3 separate regions of the Homo sapiens genome follow, and regions 1 and 3 are each linked to region 2. The links are contacts of gene promoters, found by promoter capture Hi-C in blood cells and fetal thymus (Javierre and others, 2016). All regions are on one chromosome and are shown on one strand. Each heading gives the region's core, a stretch centred on a gene start or on the middle of the fragment in contact. The rest is flanking DNA. Distances are from core to core; before and after follow the strand shown.

Evidence for each region. The method cuts DNA at HindIII sites, captures the fragments that hold promoters and counts their contacts. A CHiCAGO score of 5 or more calls a contact.
Region 1: a contact is called between a fragment that was not itself captured here and the fragment with the promoter of PCTP in region 2, in 1 of 17 cell types (monocytes). The highest score is 5.4, in monocytes.
Region 3: a contact is called between a fragment that was not itself captured here and the fragment with the promoter of PCTP in region 2, in 6 of 17 cell types (monocytes, M0 macrophages, neutrophils and 3 more). The highest score is 9.6, in monocytes.

What each region holds. Positions count from the first base shown.
Region 1 is chr17:55,547,926-55,550,625 of GRCh38, reverse strand. No RefSeq gene overlaps it. Among named protein-coding and RNA genes, the nearest start is that of SMIM36, 38 kb to the right of the region's middle. The HindIII fragment of the contact is 2,872 bases long and covers 1-2,700 here.
Region 2 is chr17:55,749,683-55,752,382 of GRCh38, reverse strand. It overlaps PCTP (phosphatidylcholine transfer protein), which reads right to left and starts at 1,332. Exons shown (of 6, transcript NM_021213.4): 1 at 1,139-1,332. The coding sequence starts at 1,279. RefSeq lists a silencer at 1,195-1,534. The HindIII fragment of the contact is 1,470 bases long and covers 1,262-2,700 here.
Region 3 is chr17:55,529,749-55,532,448 of GRCh38, reverse strand. It overlaps a transcript of SMIM36 not described here. Among named protein-coding and RNA genes, the nearest start is that of SMIM36, 20 kb to the right of the region's middle. The HindIII fragment of the contact is 2,044 bases long and covers 292-2,335 here.

The DNA.
Region 1 (2,700 bases), core at 46-2,545, 200 kb after region 2:
CAGGGAACCCACTTGCATAATAGAAGATTGGCATGGGGGCGGCCAGAGATTTGTGCCATAGGCAAATGGCACACCTGGTCCTAACCAGATTTTTGCACCCTATGTAAATCAGACACCACCTCCCCACTAGCTCATCTATAAAAACCCCTGCATTTTGCTGTGGACCAGCAACCTATTTTTTCAGGACTACTCTGTGTAGCAGAGAGCTATTCTTTTTCTTTTCCCAATTAAATTTCCGCTCTTAACCTCACTCATTGTGTGTCCGCATCCTTGATCTCCATGGCTGTGAGACAACAAACCTCAAGTATTTTCCCAGACAATGAGGCCACTTCAACAAGAGACTGGTAAAAAAAAGAGACAATCAAGGAATAAGGACAATTTTTGGCGACGTGCATTAATTGAATAAATAACACATCATATCCACTTTATAAAAGAGAACAGCATTGTGATTACTCCCAGTAACTGTATTCTATCTTCAGTGGCTGTCTGATTTTATCCCCACAATCAAAATTGAAGGAATTCTGAAAAGAAAAAAATCTTAACCTTGGGGGTTAAGATTTCAACATAGGAATTTGGAGGGGGACAAAAATGTTCTATCTGTAGCAGGGTCTAAAAGCACAATTGCCCACTTAATCTCTAATTCATAGAGTAATATTAATATTTAATATACAGTTTACTTGTTAAATGCAGTTCCAAGCACTTTACATGTTTGGATGGTGGCACTCTTGTGTACTGGATTATTTCCTTCGGCTCATACAAACACCTCCTAGTATCTCTCATTAAAAACAAAACCACACCCCTTTTGAACTCTCATAACCCTCCAGATGCTTCTCCATTTCTCTGTACTTTTTCATTGTTTAGGGTTGTCTACAAACATTATGTCCACTTATTCATTTTCCACTTACTCTTACTCACTACAAGCTGAGTTTCACCTCCACTACTACACAGCAATTACTCTTGTCTGTGTCACCTGTAATCTCCATGTTACCAAATCCTATGAGCACATTTCTGCCCTCGTTTCAGTTGATTCCATAGTAGCATTCCACATAGTCAATCACTCCTACCATTTTGGAACTCCCTCCTATATTGGCTTTTGTGACACTCTTCAGTCTTGGTTTTCATTATATACCATTGCCTACTCCTTGCCTGTCTCCTTTACTCCTCTTCTACCCAATCTTTAAATGTTGGCACTTCTCAAACCCCAGTGGCAGCACTCCTTCTTTTTCTATACTCGTTCTCCTGATATAACCCAGTCGTTCTCAACAGGGTGTGATTTTGCCCCCTAGAGGACATTTGCCAATGACTAGAGACATGTTTTACTGTGACAACTGGGAGTATGTCACTGGCATCTAAAGGACAGAGGCTGGAAATACTACTAAACATTGATGGTGAGTATACAATCCTAAAATGCACAGCACAGCCTCCCACAACTAAGAATTATCTGTTCCAAAGTGCTGCTGGTACATTGAGAAACCCTGCCCATGCAGGCTTTGCCTTTTTACTGTCTGTGGCAGACAGTATGTCTTGTCTTCTGGTATCCATTCTCCCCTTCTTTTTAGTAATGGAATTGACATTTCATCAGGTAGCATATGGCCATCCAGTTTATAGACTCTATGTTACAGCCTCTCTTGCAGCTAAATAACATGTGTTACCCCTGGGTCGTTTCCTTAAAAAGAAGGTGCACCTTTTTCCCTATTTCTGAATGATAGGATGTGGTCTTGGTGCTAATGAACCAATTTCCACCATACAGAGAAAAATAATATTCAAGGGATGACAAATAAAAGTGCCGTGAATCCCTGAATGACCTTGTGGAGTGGAGCTGTCTAACTAGATCACCCACCTATCTCTGAACTATGACATGAATGATAAAGAAACTTGTGCCTTGTTTGATCCACTATATTTGGGTGCCTCATTTTAAAAATCTTAATTGATCTCCCACTGACATACCATCTATATAATACCTGATGGAGCTATAATTTGTAATCACTACCTTGAGTTCCTCTCTAAACTTCAGATTTATAAATTAACTACCTACTTGATATGTATTCTTGCATATCTCCCAGAATCTCAAACTTAACGTTTTCAAAATGAAGCTATTGATTTCACCACCAAACCACCCCTCTTTGGCCTTTCCTCCACTCAATAAATGGCTAGAAATTGTAAGTCATCCTTCATCACCGTCTTTCAACCCCAAATATATGCCTTCATTTTTGCTTCCGAAATAAGCATGATATATGCTCATTTTCTTATAGCTATTTCTACCATCTTGGTTCACGCCACTACCATCTCTCTCCTGGACCATTGTGATAGCCTCTGCACTGGGCTTCCTGTATTTTGCTTTGCTCCTCCGATTCATTTTCCACAGAGAAGCTGGAGGAAATCTTTCTAAAATAACAATCAGATAATCACATGCTTTTCACAAGACTTTTCAAAGTCTACCTAATGCGCTTAAAATAGAACTCATAATTCTTACCCAGAGTCTACAAAGATCAGCATAATCTAATCCTTGTATAGCTTCATCTTGGGCCACTCTTGCCTTTTACACCTGATGCCCAAGCCACACTGGTCTCCTTTCAGTTCATCACACAAAGCTCTTTCCTGCCTCAGGACCTTCACTCATACTGTTCCTTCTGTCTTAAGTGCATTGATCCCTCCTTTCTGCATGGTTGACCCACCTCCTTCTGCAATTTCCTATCTTCA
Region 2 (2,700 bases), core at 83-2,582:
TGACAGATTGGATTTGAACCCCCTAACAACCCTGCAATGAGACAGGCAGAGTTTTCATTCCTGCAATGAGACAGGCAGAGTTTTCATTCCTGTTTAACAGGTGAGCAACTTCTAAATATTGCAAACGTTTGTTTTCTGTTTTAAAATATAAAAACACTATATTTGATGTAAACAAAAATGCAAGTGCCTAAAAAGGCAACCACATGTTTGACATTCACAAGATCATGAACCCTCCAATCCCACCTCTGCTATTCACTTATCTGGGCCATTTCAGGAGTGACTTCACCCTTGAGGCCTGTTGCTTTCACCTATGAAACCTGGGGTTTAACCAGGTGAGCATGAGGTATCCTCCTAACTCTAACACTATAATATCCTGGTCCTGTATTAGGAAACTTCAGTTTCACCCACATTACCTGCAGGCGACTTTTAACCTACTTGCCATGCTGCGACTATTACACAAAGCAACTGATGACAAGCCTTGGATGACAGGCCTCAGGGGCAATGCCTTCCACCTGGATGGCTACCTGATTCCAAAGACTTCAACAACCAATCCCATTCCTCCTACATCTTTACTCCTGCCTGAAGATTCGGACTCAACTTATTAAGAGCAACTTGGAAGGAAGGGGCAACAACCAAAAGAAACGAGTCACTAAAACAGTAGGGCCCTTCTCGGCAACCCCTGACACCACCCTGCACATCCAGTCCTTGAAAAGTTCTGTTTCTTTTCCTCCTATATCCAAGCCCTAAGATACCGCCCCTCCCCCACCCCAGCCCCCATATGCCACTGACACGCATTGGAGAGTGAGGATCAACGTCCCTTGCAGACGTGTGCACGGGCCTAGGAACCAGCTGACCCACGTTTCAACTGTCATTAACTTCTAACTACATGCCCCGTCGGGCCTGACCTGAGGCTGAACTCCTGTGACCTTCCAACTCCCCTGGATCTGCACGGCAGTCACTTGGAGGCACCGCCCCTGCGCTAGCTCCAGAGCTTGAGACAGGGTCCGGGCGGAGCTCCTTCCTGAGCCGGAGAAGACGCGCCCCTGTCCCTTCCGCGACTGCCGCCCCGCACTCCCTGCGGGGAGGTCGACCCCGGCGCATTCTAGGCCCCGCGGTCCTCCAGCGGGTTGGCCGCTACCTTGTCCAGCAGCCGGTAGATGCTGATGCCCGAGGTCTCCACTAGGAGCTGCCAGTCGGCCCCGGCCAGAGCGGGCTGCTGGAGCTCGGCGCAGGCCTCCCAGAACTGCTCCTCCGAGAAGCTTCCGGCGGCCAGCTCCATCCTTCCGCAGTCCGGGCTCCTCCGCCTGGAGGGCAGGCCGCGGACACCCTTAGTGTGGGCCTGGGGGCGGGGTGACCGGGCTGCCCCGGCTGCCCCGGCTGCCCCAGCGTCATTGGCAGGAAACTGAGGAGAAGGCGGGGCCTAGACTGGAGGAGCGGCCTGAGGGTGGGGCCCTGGAGGGGCGGGCCTAGAAAAGCGGGCGGGGCTGAGCAAGGAGTGAGGAGGATAGACAAGAAGTAAAAGGAGAAAAATTGGACTTGATGTGGGGAAGGAAGGAAGAGCTGGAGAAGTAAGGAGGCTTCCAGAGGGAAGGGAAAAAGGAAGGGAGACAGTGATGTCACCTCAAAAACAGCTCCTCAGTAGCCTATCCCATACTCCCTGCTACTCCCATAACCTACAGACCTGTTTGAGTGTCTCTCATTTACCTTTCTGAATAAAGTAGAGAAAGTCTCTTTGGTAGACATGAGAGGAGAGGTGGGCAGAGTAGAAATGCTGGAAAAATCCTAAGGGGTCAAATGCCAGAAGTGTATTTCAATATAATTTCTCTTCTTTCTGCTATACATTGTAAAACATTATTCTGAGACGAGGTCCATTGGATTCCCCAGAAGACTCTAGGGGTTCATAACACCAAAACAGTTTAGAAACCTAATCCATAATGGATCTACAAGGTTGTTGCCACCCTTGAGGGTAGAAACTGATCTGAAAGGTGTCGTACTATCCACCTAGGATTTCTGCAACTTGCATAATTTAGCTCACTGTGCAACTCAAACATCTTCTTGTTCCTTTGAAGTCCCTTGAGTAATACTGTATTTCCCACCAGCAGACTGTACTACCTGACTTTGAATAAAGTAGGTCGTTTGAACATCAAAACGATGTAACAGCCACGTGAGTGCCAATAAACTCTGGAAACTCATGTTTCCTAATCTGTAAAATGGGTCAAGAATTGTGCTACCAGTTACAGCTGAGGAGGTGGTTGGACAAGGAATAATTTTCCACAGTGCCCGTCCAAGTAAATGTTCAATAACAATTTCCACTTGTTTTGCATTACTATATTGAAATGCTTTTCTTTCCTTACTTGAAAGAAAGTTGATGGCAAAGTCTTAATTTATGTGATTTTCCAATCAGGCAAATGATCACATTTGGCAGCTTGCTTAGTTAGACACAGCAGAGATAAATAATTGCTTTCCTCAAGTCAGTCCTGGTTCTGTTTGGCTTTATAGGTGTGGAAAGAGGGATGTGAAATTTTCCTAGACTAAATGCACAAAAGTTTAGGCTAGACATACTTTCCCACTGTTTTATAACTCCTTGTAAATTTTCTATGTATTGTAAATCCATATTTTATTTAAATGGAAATTCATTGCTTGAAAAACCAATTGTGTAAAAACTATTGGCTATGAAGTATTTTCAAGTATCTTCAAGGA
Region 3 (2,700 bases), core at 64-2,563, 220 kb after region 2:
GGGGCATAGTCTGGAAGGACATGGAAAATTAAAAGAGAAGTTAAACACTGCACAATTAAGTGAGAAGAACTTTGAATCTCAATGAATAACTCAGGCAAGACAATAGGAAGAGAATGGAGATAAGGAGAAGGTATGAGCTACAAGAAGGAAGGTCAGCCCTCCGCCAAACCAGCAAGATATTCCCTGTGGTGAAGAATGGCTGATGAATTTCAGCACAAAGCTATCTAATGTTCAGTTTCAAGTTGCTATCTACATGATGCTATGCCATCATCCCTCCATTACTGCAAAGCTTCAGTAAAAGAGAGAAAGAAAGTTAACAGCAGAAATGAGGAGCAATATTTAGGAAGCATAACGGGGCATAAAGACATGTAAACTCTACAAAATTACACAGGTGAGACTTTTCGATAGCAATATCTTATTTCAATTTTAAAATTCAGGCTCAGACCAGAAAGTGAGGGTACTTGGGGTCACCCACACAACTGACACTTGGGTGACATATGTATTCCTACACAATGGAGAAATACCTCTTCTACATGATGGCAAATATCCCTGTGAGTGTTATCTCCTTATCTTTCACTTTATCTTACCATTGTCTGGTTTGTTTAGCTCCTACTTGGGGCCTATTCCGTACTATTGTGTCCTCCTCATTTATTATGGTTACATTCCGCTTCTTAAACAATTATGTCTACTATAGCTCCATGTTTATGTAAAACAGTGACTGTGTACTGATGTTTAGTCACAATAAAAGTAGCCCATACAAAGTAAAAAAGAGTTGGATTTCAAAGGACAAACACAATTTAAGACTTTTTCCCTTTGACATTGATTTCTTTCGGTACGTCAGCCAATACATAAAAACATGTCCACCTTATCAAGGCCAAAGGTTAACTACCAAGAGCTTCATTGATTCCACAAATATTTATTGTTCATCAGTCCTATGACTGACACTACTAGGGGGTAGGGCCACAGTAGGAATAACAAATGGTCACAATGTAGTTAGGGAAAGAGAAATGAAAACAAAACTGGAAGCCGGTATATACACCAGGCCAAGACAATATAAGGAGGTTATCAAAAGCCTCTGGCATGGGAAGATACAAAAACTTCAAAAGAAGGTGACAATTGGAGCCAGTTTTGAAGAATCCATGAGGGTTCACCAAGCCAAAAGGAGGGCAAGGGCATGAACTTACAAGTAACTGCCACATTATTGAGGGAAGTTTGGTCATGTGGGGAGGTCAGCGGAAGAAAAGGGAAAGGCAGGCAGCGTTGGGGTTGTGGAGATGTTTGCATGCTTGAGATGTTTGGCCTTTAATAACCATGGAGAGCCACTGAAAGTTGATAATGATAGGAGTGATTAAGAAGATATCTTGCTTCAGAAGGATGGCTTGGAAGGAGATAGAAATGGAATCTGAAAGTCCGCAAAATCTACAACTTTTGTCATGATTGTGGGGAAGAAAAGGGAAATTAAATCATTATTATTAGGTAGGCTTAAATAGGAAATTTTATTTATTTCCCTGTGCCTGGCTGCCTGAATCTAATAGTTGAACTTGCCTAAGGGAAGAGGGTCAAAAAAACAACCTGTCACTTATTTCTTCCTCATTCCCCGCAGACAATTCCCAAATAAGAATTTCTACATCCAAGCAATTCCTTCTGCTTTCCTGCATTTTTTTTTGAGGCGGAGTCTAGCTCTGTCACCCAGGCTGGAGTACAGTGGCACGATCTCGGCTCACTACACCCTCTGCCTCCTGGGTTCAAGTGATTCTCCTGCCTCAGCCTCCTGAGTAGCTGGGATTACAGGCGCCCGCCACCATGCCTAGCTAATTTTTGTATTTTTAGTAGAGATGGGGTTTCACTCTGCTGGCCAGGCTGTTCTCAAACTCCTGACCTTTTGATCCGCCTGCCTTGGCCTCCCAAAGTGCTGGGATTACAAGCGTGAGCCACCGCGCCCAGCCTCTCCTGCATTTTTAACTGCGTCTGGGGCAGTCTGTATTAATTAGCTCTACAATCTCTTAGATTCCCATCCCAGTTGCTAAAAGGGAAACCTTCTGCCTCCACCAATATTTCAATTGCCAAAGGAGGACCATAGGGCGTAGTGTGTAAATGGCAGAGAGGAAGGTGAAGTCCACATCATTCTGAGTTCCTAGAGCAGCACCAACTGTTTTCACATCCCTGGGCTGGATTGATTTGTAATCCTCCTCTCTCCTACCCTCGACCTTTACCACCTCAGTCAATCTCTGGAAGCCAAATTGGGTTCCTATCCTGGCTACATACAATCCATTCCAAATGACCTTTTGCCAAATCCCCATGGAGTTTAGAGATCCTTCTGGGGATTTTTAAAGCTTTGTTGTTTTCAGATCAAACTTTCTCTTTTATTTCTCTTTCCTCGCTAGGGCTTAGGAGGAGAACTCAGCTTTCAGTTTGATGGTGAAATATTAGTTAAACACATCATCCCCAAAGGGATGTATTTGCATCTTCTATGAACGATGATGGAAACAGTCTCAGTTTATCAGCAAGATGGCTGAGGATGCACTTACCTAAATGAGCAATGAAGATTCATCTGCTACAGCTGAACTGTATTTGCATAGGCTAACTTATTGAGAAGGAAAAGTTAGGTTTCAGTATTATATAAAATGTGTTTGTTTTGTTTTTTGTTTGTTTGTTTTTCGGACAGGGTCTGGGTCCATCACCCAGGCTGGAGTGCAGTGG